Linked DNA regions of Homo sapiens: all the other regions are linked to region 3. The links are contacts of gene promoters, found by promoter capture Hi-C in blood cells and fetal thymus (Javierre and others, 2016). All regions are on one chromosome and are shown on one strand. Each heading gives the region's core, a stretch centred on a gene start or on the middle of the fragment in contact. The rest is flanking DNA. Distances are from core to core; before and after follow the strand shown.

Region 1 (3,160 bases), core at 297-2,796, 340 kb after region 3:
CTGTACTCCAGCCTGGGTGACAGAGCAAGACCCTGTCTCAGAAAAAAAAAAAAAGGATCGGCCCTGGGTTCGGTGGCTCACACCGTAATCCCAGCACTTTGGGAGGGCGAGGCAGGTGGATCACTTGAGGTCAGGATTTCTCAAGACCAGCCCGGCCAACATGGTGAAACCCCATCTCTACTGAAAATACAAAAATTAGCCAGGCATAGTGGCACACGCCTGTAGTCCCAGCTACTCAGGAGGCTAAGGCAGGAGAATCACTTGAACCTGGGAGATGGAGCTTGCAGGGAGCCAAGATCGCTCTACTACACTCCAGCCTGGGCGACAAAGTGAGACTCTGTCTCAAAATAAAAGAAAAAAAAGAAAAGAAGGAACTGACCCTGGCTGGAGGGAGAGGTGACTGGGACCTCCCGGGGCTACCTCAATGTCAGGAGAGCACTCCTGGAGACCCAAAGCTTCCAGTTAGGGATTCAAGAAGATAGACTGGGGCGCGGGCAATAGGGATGCAGGCAAGGAGCTTCTCCTTGGAACGGGAGCCCTGAGACCCCCGGGGGAAAATCTGGTCACTCACGTATTCATTCAGCACACATTTATGGCTACAGGCTCTGTGCCTTCCCATGGAGAGACAGAAGAAAGGGAGCCAGTCCCTGTCCTCACGGAGCTCACCTCACCCAAACACACACTCTCTAGAAGGAAATTCTGGGGGTCTTACGGGCCAAAAGGAAGGGGCATTTCCCTCCAGGTCCTCTGGAGTCCCCTGACAAAGGGCCCTCCAGGCCTCATCCCTGACTCACTGGGGCTTCCAAAGTCTCCTCCGGCTCAGGGAGTATCTATCCCTGGCCCCAGCCCCCAGCCCAGTTCCACCCCACCCCCAATCAGGCAAGGAGGTCTTTCAAAAGCTCCTCTGATCTCTGACAGGGACAATGTTGGCACACAGGTTTCTTCACAGGTGTAACACCTGGGCGGGGGCATTTGCATGGGTTTTGCAAAAGCTGGGCCTGAGGCTCACCAGTGCCCAGTTGCTCTCTCTTCCCAGCCCTCGCAGAGCAGACCTCCTGCTCCTTCTCACCTGCCCCACCTTGGGCCAGGTCTCTAACCTTTGCACTGCAGAGAACCCCAGGGCCTCTTTTCCTGCTTTCGCCCAAAGAGTTCCCAGGAGGAAAGCCAGAACAGTGCCAACTGCGGCTTCCAGTCAGCAAGGCAGAGCCTGGGGACTATTGGGTTCAGCACAAAAGTGACCCCTGACAGCATTGAGGGAGATATGTCAGCCTGCTGTGAGCCCAGGACTCCAGGTGGGAACCAGGTAGCTCTGGCTCTGCCCAATTCCAGCTGCTCCAGTGCCTGGAAGGTAGTAAACACGCCCTCAATATTTAGTGAATGGATGAATGAGGGTTTTCAATTCATCAGCCATTGCGAAACTGTAGGCCTAGGAACAGACAAAAGGCCTGGCCCTACCCTTGGAAAGCCCGACTGAACCCAGCAGGGGAGAGCCAGAACTACAAAGCCTGTTTCAGGAGTGAGAGAAAAAATATTCATCTAACTGCCGTGGTGTGAAAGTCTGCCTTGTGTCAAAGAACCCTGCTAAGCAAGCAACTTTACATCATCTCGGTTTAGCATAAGTCCCCTGTGACATGGGTCCTCTCAGTCCCACTTTAGAGATGAGGAAACTGAGGCTCAGAAAGGTTCAGTGACTTTTGCTTAAGGTCACAAGGCTGGGATGGGGTGCAGCCAGGACTCCAACCTGGAAGACTTTGTAATAAATTGAGCAAGAATGATGTGGTGGCATCCCGGGTCCCTTTTCCCCCAGCTGGGATCTGGTGACTGTGTCCTCCTTAAATCCCTCTTTAGTTTTCTTATCTGCAAATAGAAGTAATAATAATATCTACATTGTAAAGAGATTGGGAGGATCAAATGAAACTTAAGACATGTAGAATAGCCAGGCAGGCCCCTGTAGTCCCAGCTACTCTGAGAGGCTGAGGCAGAAGGATTGCTTGAGCCTAGAAGCTCCAAAACCATCCTAGGCACATAGGGAGACCCTTTCTCAAAAAAAAAGTAAACAGCAGGGTGCGGTGGCTCACACCTGTAATCCCAGCACTTTGGGAGGCCAAGGCAGGTGGATCACTTGAGCTCAGGAGCTCCAGACCAGCCTGGCCAAGATGGCGAAACCCTGTCTCTACTAAAAATACAAAAATTAGCTGGGTGTGATGGCACGCATGTGCCTGTGGTCCCAGCTACTTGCTGGGAGGCTGAGGTGGGAGAATCACTTGAACCCAGGGTGGGGGGAGGGGGGTGGCAGTGGAGGTTGCAGGAGATGAGATCGCACCACTGCACTACAGCCTGGGCAACAGAGCAAGACTCTGTCTCAAAAACAAACAAACAAAAAGACACGTAAAATGCTTAGAATGATGCTAGCACATGCAACACCTACATTAGCATTGCCTATTATTATTATTATTAATTGAAATTCATATCACTTATTCATTCAACAAACGTTTGAGTACCAGGATTCAGCCTCCAGCAGCCGATCAGGACACAAATACGAAGTGGGTAGTCAGTGCTATAATACTAAGAAGTGGGCCAGTGAGGGACAATAGCAGAGGGGAGGCTTCCAGCCTTGGGATGTGGGAAGAGGTCATCAAAGCTTCCCGAGGACAGCCAGTCAATTCTCCAACCAGAAGCAGAAGTAATATTTTTAACATGCAAATCTGATCAGCTGAGGCTGTGGTGAACCCTCAAATAGCATGGGGGCGGGGCCCCGATGCCCTAAGGATGAAGTCCAAAGACTCCCCTATTCCACAGGGGATCCTACAGGCTCTGGCCATTTGCGCCTCTGCTTCCAAGGCTCTGACCCCATCCCATCCTGGCCTGTTTTCCTTTTGCCCAAAGCTCAATCCCTTCCAGTTCCAGGGCCTCTGCTCCTGTTGCCCCCTCTGCCAGGCCCCCAGGCACCACCTCTCCTCCTGCAGGGTCTGAGTGCTCAGGTGAGGAGAGGTCTCTGCTCCGCACTCACACTGCACTTGCACAATCCTCTGGGAACTTGCCTCGCCTTGTTGAACACCTCTGCCCCCACAAGACAGAACATTCCAAGAAGATAGGGACCCAGGAGGAGGGAATCGTGTGCGTGGGGGAGGCGCTGGGACAGCCTGCAGGGATCCCAGGC
Region 2 (3,179 bases), core at 432-2,931, 310 kb after region 3:
CATGGTGCACACACCTGTGATTGTGGTCCCAGCTACTCAGGAGGCTGAGGCAAGAGGATTGTTTGAGCTCAGGAGGTCGAGGCTGCAGTGAGCCATGATTGTGGCACATGAACCCCAACCTGGGTGACAGAGCAAGACTCTGTATCTAAAAAAAAAAAAAAAAGATAGCAAACTTCCTTTTCACATCCAATTTAAGGCTTGTCCTCCTCCTCCTCTTAGATCTGACTGAGATCTGGGTCCATATTAAAGACTCCTTTAGTACAACAAACACCATATATCCTCACGTAAGTCCATGAATATCTGACATTTCTCATATCTACTTTCTCTCGATTTATTGATAGATAGGTATACATTGTTTTAATTTTATGGGTACATAGTAGGTGTATATATGTATGGGGTACATGAAATGTTTTGATACAGGCATGCAATATGAAATAAGCATTCATGGAGAATGGAGTATCCATCCCCTCAAGCAAGGATAAACCTTTGAGTTACAAACAATCCAATTACACTCTTTAAAGGTGTACATTTTTTTTTTTTTTGAGACGGAGTCTCACTCTGTCGCCCAGGCTGGAGTGGAGTGGCACGATCTTGGCTCACTGCAGCCTCCACCTCCCAAGTTCAAGCCATTCTCCTGCCTCAGCCTCCCGAGTAGCTGGGATCACAGGCACATGCCACCATGCCTGGCTAATTTTTGTATTTTTAGTAGAGACGGAGTTTCACCAGGTTGGCCAGGCTGGTCTTGAACACCTGATCTCAGGTGATCCGCCCATCTCGGCCTCTCAAAGTGCTGGGATTACAGGTGCGAGCCATCGCGCCTGGCCTAGAGGTGTACATTTTTTAACAGAACCATTCAAAAGGAGGTTGTGGGGATCATGACACTTCCATGCTACAGCATTAATCTCCTAAGAATAAGGATACACTCCCACATACCATGACACTCTGTTCACACCTAAAAAAATTTACATTTATTCCAGAATATCATCTAATCTCCAGTCCGTGCTTACATGTCCCCAATTGTCCCCAAAACATCTTTTATAGATTTTTTTAAAATTTTGTTTAAATGCCATATCCAATCGATATGGCAATCAAATGCAAATCCATATTGCATTTGGTTATGTCTCTTAGTCTTTTTGCATAAGGGGGGCCTCTCTTTAGGATGCAAAATCTTTATCATCTCTTCTTTTCCACTTGGGGACTTGGGCTGAAAATCAGGAGTGGCTGGAACACGCCCATTTACTGTTTGGTTTTGCAGGTTGTTGGAGGGTACTACAGAAGAACATCCCTCTGGAGAGGGGCCGTGAGCCTGGTTGGCCTAGACTGAGTGCCCTGGCAGAGCTCTTCCTCATGTGTGCAGTGGGAAAGAAGCCCAGATCAGTCCAAAGGCCTAACCCCCACTCCCAGACCCTACCCTACTCTTCAGAGAAATAGGCTCCCTACCCTGAACCCTAAAGACAGCTGTACCTTCATCCCCAGGGACCCAGCACCCCTTCTGGCCTATCCCCAAAGAGTCACCCTGGGTCTTAGGTAGTAGGTGGAGCTGAGGGATAATGGCCCAAGGCCAAGAGTTGATCCTTCCAACTTTGTTCAGTGATCCAGCTTTCATATCAGGTGATCAGGACAACCAGGCCAATCTGATAGGGGGCGGTGTTTATAAAAAGGCCACTCACCTAGAGCCAGAAGCTCCACACCAGCCATTACAACCCTGCCAATCTCAAGCACCTGCCTCTACAGGTACCTTTCTTGGGACCAATTTACAATCTCTGGGATCCCCAACTATAGAACCTGGAAGCTAGTGGGGACAGAAAGACGGGGAGCCTGGGCTAGGTGTAGGGGTCCTGAGTTCCGGGCTTTGCTACCCAGCTCTTGACTTCTGTTTCCCGATTTTAAATGAGCAGTTTGGACTAAGCCATTTTTAAGGAGAGCGATGGGGAGGGCTTCCCCCTTAGCACAAGGGCAGCCCTGGCCCTGGCTGAAGCCCAACCCCAACCTCCAAGACTGTGAGAGGATGGGGACTCATCCCTGGAGGAGGTGCCCCTCCTGGTATTGATAAAGAATGCCCTGGGGAGGGGGCATCACAGGCTATTTGAACCAGCCCTGGGACCTTGGCCACCTCAGTGTCACTGGGTAGGGGGAACTCCTGGTCCCTTGGGTATATGGAAGGTATCAGCAGAAAGCCAGCACTGGCAGGGACTCTTTGGTACAATACCCAGCATGCATGCTGTGCCAGGGGCTGACAAGGGTGCTGTCCTTGGCTTCCCCATTTTGGAGTGGTCACTTGCCTCTACTCCAGCCCCAGAAGTGGAAACTGAGATGATGTGTGGAGGAGAGAGCCAGCGTTCATGTTGGGAATCTTGAGGCTCCTTTCCAGCTCTCAGATTCTGTGATGCTCAAAGGGTGAGCTCTGTGGGCCCAGGACGCATGGTAGATGGAGCTTAGTCTTTCTGGTATCCAGCTGGGAGCCAAGCACAGAACACGCATCAGTGTTTATCAAATGACTGAGGAAATGAATGAATGAATGTCTCCATCTCAACCCTCAGCCTGGTCCCTCCTTTTTTCCCTGCAGTTGGTACAGATGGCATTGTCCCAGTCTGTTCCCTTCTCGGCCACAGAGCTTCTCCTGGCCTCTGCCATCTTCTGCCTGGTATTCTGGGTGCTCAAGGGTTTGAGGCCTCGGGTCCCCAAAGGCCTGAAAAGTCCACCAGAGCCATGGGGCTGGCCCTTGCTCGGGCATGTGCTGACCCTGGGGAAGAACCCGCACCTGGCACTGTCAAGGATGAGCCAGCGCTACGGGGACGTCCTGCAGATCCGCATTGGCTCCACGCCCGTGCTGGTGCTGAGCCGCCTGGACACCATCCGGCAGGCCCTGGTGCGGCAGGGCGACGATTTCAAGGGCCGGCCTGACCTCTACACCTCCACCCTCATCACTGATGGCCAGAGCTTGACCTTCAGCACAGACTCTGGACCGGTGTGGGCTGCCCGCCGGCGCCTGGCCCAGAATGCCCTCAACACCTTCTCCATCGCCTCTGACCCAGCTTCCTCATCCTCCTGCTACCTGGAGGAGCATGTGAGCAAGGAGGCTAAGGCCCTGATCAGCAGGTTGCAGGAGCTGATGGCAGGGCCTGGGCACTTCGACCCTTACAATCAGGTGGTGGTGTCAGTGGCCAACGTCATTGGTG
Region 3 (3,145 bases), core at 190-2,689:
CTCCCACACTGCTCAGTGACCTTGGGCAAGTCACATTCCCTCAGCTACTGCGGCAGTTCGGGCCACTCGTTTTGTGTATGGTTTTTTTTCCCCTCTGCTAATAATACCTGCCCCAGATAATGCTCAGACTCCCGCAATCCCTGCAAACTGCCAAAGGCATCAAAAGGCTCCCGGTGGGGCCAGACCCGACCAGTTCCCCCAGCCCCCACTGCGAGTCCCCCACCATCACGACAGGGGGGCCGCAGACACGCCAAATTTGGGGACAGAGCCGAATCGGACTGGGGGCGGGGAGGCATTTGTGTGCAATGCAGGGGAGGGGAGATCAGTTCCTCGCGGCAGAAAGCCTCAAACCCCCGCCTAACCGGCTTTCTGTCCCATAGTACAGGGTCTAAACTGAGGTGCCCTGGGGGAGACTCCAGTCCCCCAGGTTCTTATTATCTACCCTGGCCTAAAGGCTGCACCCCCGCCCTAGATCCACCGCCTGGGGGTCCCAACGGCCGTGCCCCACCCAACGGGCACTGCCCCCCAACGCTGGAGCCGATTTCTGGTGACAACTGCCACGTGCGGGCAAGGGGGGAGCGGCCGGTCCCGGCATTGCTGAGGCAGCGCCCTGGTACCCCAAGCCGCCGCACCGCACCATGTCCCGCCGCTCGCTGCAGGATGCCCACCCCCTTGCCTGGCCCGAGCTCCGGGCCGGGGCGGGGGCGGGGGCAGGCGGCGGGGTCTTTGTTCCCGCTGCCGAAGCGCGGCGGCGGCGGCAAGGGGTCCGCGCCCCCCTTGCCGGCCCAGCCTGCGCCCCGCGCGCCAGCAGAGCCCGCAGCTCAAAAGGAGGGTACCCGGGTTGGGGTCCCAGGCGGGGAAAGGTCCTCCGCCGAAGCCCCCGAGCCAGAGGACCCAGAGTGGCTCGGGGCCGAGAGAGGGGCCCGCCCCCTCCCCTGGCGCCCGGGCGTTGCGGCTCCTGGCTGCCAGGGACTTGGTGCGACTTAGCCGGGGCTCCGGCCCCCGCCGCTCGCTCGCCGCAGCGTTACAGCCGGCTCTGGTGTGCCAGCGTGTACACTCACACACACTCACCCAAACCCACACGCTCCACGCGGGGACAGCGCGGGGACAGCCCGGGACCCGCAGAGCTGCGCGCACGCACTCCCTCCGGGTGCAGCACACTCCGCACCCGCCCCGCGCAGCGTCTGATCCCGCGCCTGACCGGCCGCGCGGCGCCGCCTACCTTTCCAGACGGCGAAGATGCGGGGTCCGCTCCTTAGGTGGCCCTGGGCGGAGGCGGCGGCCGCCCAGAGCAGCAGCAGCAGCCGCAGCCGCAGCGGAAGCCCCAACCGAGCCGGCGGGCCAGGGACGCGGGCGCGCGGTGCGCTGGGGGCGGCACGTCCGGGCGGAGGAGGCGTCATCCCGTGGCCCCGGGAGCGACAGCGGCAATCAGCCGAGACTGAGCCAGCGCCCGGCCGCAGGCAGACCCAAGCGCCAGGAGGCGGAGCCAGCGCTGACCCCACCCCGCCCCTCCCCCCGCCCCTCGCAGCCTTTTCTCGCCTCACTGGCTTTCCTGAGCGAGAGCGGAACTGCTGGGGGAACCTTCGCCACCCTCTCCCGGGCAACTCTACGGGGAAAGCCCAGCTGCGGACAAGCCAGACTTGTGGTCTTCTGCCAGGGGCGGCAGGCCCTATCCCCTCTCTGGGCCTCAGTTCCACTCCCCGCACCCCGTAAAAAGATTGGCGTAGAAGTCGTGGAGGACCTCTCTCCAAGGGCGCAGAGGAGTCCAACACCCAACAACCTTGCTATGGCCAGCTAAGTGGTTCGCACCCTGAGGACTATGGTCCTCGGAGGATGCGTTCGCCTAAGTGGACACGGCTCCCTGCTGAGCCTACCAGCAGGCACAACGATGATATGTGGGGAGCACTCAGGGACCCGCTGTTGCTTTGCCTGGGAGAACACTGGAAATTTTTCATCTTGGCCTGGCTCCTTCCCCTCCCTCTCCTTTCTCCTCCCTTTCCCAGCCAGCAGCCTTCTGGGCTGCCTCCCCCCAAGCCAGCTGGTGTACGCTCAGAAAATCCAAACTCATTTCCATGTGAGTGGAGGGGGATATAATTAGGAAGGCCCCTTCCCCAAGTAGAGAGGGGAGCATCCCCCGTGCCCCACTCACTGTGGGGGAGGGAGGGTCAAAGCAGCTTAAGGGGATCTCTGCCCGCAAAGTGCCTAGGGCTCAGCTATCTCAGGCAACCTGACCATTCAGTGGGGACTCCCTTGGGGGGTCCAGGCCCAGACCCTCTGCAGTTACCTGAGCAGTCCAGCCAGCTCTGCCATCAGCTCCTCCTCTCAGAACTACGTGCCTGCCCTTTGTAAAAGGGTCTCCTCTCTCTAGACCAGACAGGGCCCAGACCTACCACTTCCACTTGTGCCCCAGGGAACCATGAATGGAAAATCCACCCAGCTCAGTAAGTACTTATCTAGTGTTTACTGGATGTCTAGCTGCACTGAGAGGAGACAGGCCGAGGAAGGAGTAGAGGTGAACATCCAACCTTCAGAACTCACAGACCTAGACACGATTCACGCACTGCAGACACCAGCAAAGGCGGTGGGCTGGCTGCCCTCTGCCCTCTGCCCTGCTCCATGGGGCCAGGACCATTTGGTTGTTGTTTTTACCTCCTGGAACCAGGAAAGTTTTGCTACCAAGAAGTTTGGCTTTACCATTCTACATTTTGCTTCCAGTTGTCCCCTCCTTCTTCCCTCAGAGTCCTGAGGCACCCCAGCAGGCCAGGAAGGTAAACTCAAGGTACCTCCAGAGACAGTGCAGAGTGAGGTTCCTGGCCCACTGGGTGAAGCCAACAGCCTCCTGATACACAGGGGCACACTGCCCCAGAGAGGGAGGCTGTGGACAGTCTAAGAGCTCCTCCTCAGGCCTGCACCTAAGCCTGTGGCCCTGAAGCCAGCAGTGGAGCCTGGCCCAGGCCAGCCTCTAAGATGGACATTCGGTTTCACCTGCTAGACAGGTATTGCCCTCAGTGTCTGTCCTCTCTATGCAAAGCTAGGGCAAACTAAGAAATCACCTGTCTCTGCCTTTTGGAACTAAGAATTCAAATGGATTCAAAATCAATGATAACACTGCCCATGTGCATGGCAACTCACAACACATAACCCA
Region 4 (2,941 bases), core at 442-2,941, 390 kb after region 3:
CCCCTCAGCCCTTCCTGGAGATGCAGCAGCTCCGCCTGGCGAGGCAGCTGGAAGGGCTGTGGGCAAGGCTGGGCTTGGGCACCAGGGAGGATGTAACTCCAAAATCAGACTCTGAAGCTCAAGGAGAAGGTAGGGACCGAGAGAGCGGGCAGGTGGCGCCCATCTGAGTGTCACAGCATCCTCCACCCTTATGACCAGGGGTCCTTTAATCAGTAGGGAAACTGAGGCCTGAGGAGGCCACATCTAAGCAGGCCCTGGGCCCAAGTGTTCTGTGCTATCCCCACCTTACCACTCAGACTCATCTTCCAGGAGAGGGTCTTGGAGGCAGCAGCCACACCTTCTGGCACCCCTCTCCAAGAAGCCACCCCAAAGATAAGATAGGCTGTGTTACCCCACCATGGCTGGCTGCCCATCCCAGCTCTGCCCTAATCCCCAGGGGAAAGGCTCTTTGACCTGGAGGAGACGCTGGGCAGACACCGCCGGATCCTGCAGGCTCTGCGGGGTCTCTCCAAGCAGCTGGCCCAGGCTGAGAGACAATGGAAGAAGCAGCTGGGGCCCCCAGGCCAAGCCAGGCCTGACGGAGGCTGGGTGAGAAGCCCTACAGGCATCCAAGGCTCCACCTGCGGGCCTGAAAGAGGAGCAAGCACTGTAGTCAGCAACTAGTCTCCCCTAAGGCCTGGAGGGAAAGGAAGGCAGGGATGAAATGCTGCAGGTCACAGGATGGGGCAGGGCAGCATGCAGGATGGCATCTCTGCACAAGCAAATGCGCACGGGGCTGGGGCTGAGGCTGGGGCTGGGGAGAGGAGATGCCAGCTATTTGGACTCAGCTCTGTAGATGAATGACAGAAATAGACTAGGTGCTAATTTGCATGTAGCTTCACATGCGATTTGCATAGGGCTTGCTTAATGCTCAGTTGCACCAGAAGCCTCATTGCATCTCCATTGCCATCTGGCTCCTCCCCCAGGGAGTCATAACTCGGGTCATGCCCAGCCTGGGGGCCTGAGAGCTAAACTCAGCCAAGGTGTTAGATACTGGGCAGAGGAGGCCAGCAGCTCTTGTGGGCTTTGCTGGGCTCTGACAGCTCGAGGTTTTAATCTTGTGTCAGAGCAGCTTAGGCTGGGCTGCTAGTGTGGGGAAGAGGGGAGGGGACTTACACTCCAGGGCCAAGCCTCTCTGATCCTATCCCCAGGCCCTGGATGCTTCCTGCCAGATTCCATCCACCCCAGGGAGGGGTGGCCACCTCTCCATGTCACTCAATAAGGTAGGGACCCAAACACTGGGTGTTGACCAGCACTGGCCCCAGCTTGGCTGGTGCTCTGGGAGAACCAGGGCAGAGAGGACTGGGCTGGGCCTCTGCTTCCTTCAGGGGACAGAACCACTTTTAGAAGGGAGACGTATTTTGGCTTGGCATGGTGGCTCACGCGTGTAATCCTAGCACTTTGGGAGGCCAAGGCGGACAGATCACGAGGTCAAAAGACTGACACCATCGGGCAGATCACAAGGTCAAAAGATCGAGACCATCCTGGCCAACATGGTGAAACCCTGTCTCTACTGAAAATACAAAAATTATACAAAAATTAGCTGGGCGTGGTGGCATGCATCTGTAGTCCCAGCTACTTGGGAGGCTGAGGCAGAAGAATCGCTTGAACCCAGGAGGCAGAGGTAGCAGTGAGCTGAGATTGTGCCACTGCACTCCAGCCTGGCCGCAGAGCAAGACTCCATCTCAAATAAATAAATAAGAAGGGAGAAGTATTTTGAGAAAACCCTGAAGTGGCCACTGTTGGGAGGAAACAACCACCCCTGGGGAGAGGGGCGTGAGTGGAGGGGGAATGTGGATGCCCTTATGGATGAGGTCAGAGAAACACAGTGTGTCCAAATAAGGAGGCCCTGGTAATCTGGGAAGGCCTCTGGAAGGAAGAGGCTGCAGTGCCGCTGGGAAGGTGGGCTCTGAGAAGAGAGGGGCTATGTCCTGGGCCCTAGACAAGAGGCTGCCCCTCTGCAGGACTCTGCCAAGGTCGGTGCCCTGCTCCATGGACAGTGGACTCTGCTCCAGGCCCTGCAAGAGATGAGGTAAGGGACTGGGTGGGGACCCCTCCACCACCTTGTTTCTCCGCCTTAAGTTCCTCCATTAGCCCTTCATTCCTTCCATCATTTCCTGAGCGCCCAGCACACAGCCTGTCAATTGGAAGGGCTACTGGTGGAGTTAGGTTTGTTGAGTTGACTTGAATTTAATTGAATCAAGTTTAATGTTTTGCAAGTCCTAGTTAAAAAGCAATTCTCTCCTGGAGAAGCCCATCATGAAGGCCCCCTCAGACACTCCCACCCTCAGGAGGCTTAAGAAATCTGAGCATTCCTTCAATGGCAGCTCCTAGGATGAGGGGCATTTTGTTGGGGGCTCTTGGAGAGGGAGCACAGCCAAGATCAGACCAGTTGGATGAGACAGTCCCTGACTTGGTTTTGTGCCCCCATTAACTTCCCGGTATCCCACTCTAGGCCAGGCCTCTGGAGCCCTGGGGGTTGGGGGAGTCCTGGGGATGCTGTGGAGGAGGCATGCATCCCAGGCTGAAGCCTAAAGCCCCACCTGTACACACACAGCTAGATGCCTAGGGTTGGGGGTGGAGAGGCACCTAGATGAGAAGAAGGAAAGGAGTTAAATCCCCAGGGGCTGGGAATGGAAGGCAGAGCCGGGGAGCCTGGGGTTGACACAGATAGCTTTAGGGAGATCTTTATCTGAGCTAAAGTCTCAGGATCTAGGAAGAAGGTTGGAGGTGAAAAGACCAGCCCCCAAGAAGGGGCCCCATGGATGGTACCTGTTCCCCATCCATGTGCTGCCCTTGGGGAGATGGGAAATGATTAGGCCATCTGGGTGGAAGCAGAAGAGGTAATGAGTCATCTTACTTGGTTACCACCCCCGGTTAGGGATGCAGCTGTCCGCATGGC

Evidence for each region. The method cuts DNA at HindIII sites, captures the fragments that hold promoters and counts their contacts. A CHiCAGO score of 5 or more calls a contact.
Region 1: a fragment that was not itself captured here is called in contact with the fragment with the promoter of SEMA7A in region 3 in 6 of 17 cell types (M0 macrophages, naive B cells, M1 macrophages and 3 more); the score reaches 7.4 in M0 macrophages.
Region 2: the fragment with the promoter of CYP1A2 here is called in contact with the fragment with the promoter of SEMA7A in region 3 in 3 of 17 cell types (M0 macrophages, endothelial precursors and M1 macrophages); the score reaches 7.7 in M0 macrophages.
Region 4: a contact is called between a fragment that was not itself captured here and the fragment with the promoter of SEMA7A in region 3, in 1 of 17 cell types (M1 macrophages). The highest score is 5.3, in M1 macrophages.

What each region holds. Positions count from the first base shown.
Region 1 is chr15:74,772,536-74,775,695 of GRCh38, forward strand. No RefSeq gene overlaps it. Among named protein-coding and RNA genes, the nearest start is that of CSK, 8.0 kb to the right of the region's middle. RefSeq lists enhancers at 1-170, 1,127-1,704, 2,804-2,913, 2,934-3,003. The HindIII fragment of the contact is 2,186 bases long and covers 454-2,639 here.
Region 2 is chr15:74,747,164-74,750,342 of GRCh38, forward strand. It overlaps CYP1A2 (cytochrome P450 family 1 subfamily A member 2), which reads left to right and starts at 1,682. Exons shown (of 7, transcript NM_000761.5): 1 at 1,682-1,734; 2 at 2,567-3,179. The coding sequence starts at 2,576. RefSeq lists a cis regulatory region at 1-351 and promoters at 1-1,772, 1,438-2,575. The HindIII fragment of the contact is 9,803 bases long and covers 1-3,179 here.
Region 3 is chr15:74,432,519-74,435,663 of GRCh38, forward strand. It overlaps SEMA7A (semaphorin 7A (JohnMiltonHagen blood group)), which reads right to left and starts at 1,440. Exons shown (of 14, transcript NM_003612.5): 1 at 1,223-1,440. The coding sequence starts at 1,400. RefSeq lists silencers at 603-722, 873-1,022, 1,073-1,582. The HindIII fragment of the contact is 7,034 bases long and covers 1-3,145 here.
Region 4 is chr15:74,820,639-74,823,579 of GRCh38, forward strand. It overlaps LMAN1L (lectin, mannose binding 1 like), which reads left to right. Exons shown (of 14, transcript NM_021819.3): 8 at 1-129; 9 at 437-588; 10 at 1,191-1,262; 11 at 2,004-2,071; 12 at 2,921-2,941. Among named protein-coding and RNA genes, the nearest start is that of CPLX3, 4.5 kb to the right of the region's middle. RefSeq lists enhancers at 1-31, 32-845, 1,660-2,472. The HindIII fragment of the contact is 5,744 bases long and covers 1-2,941 here.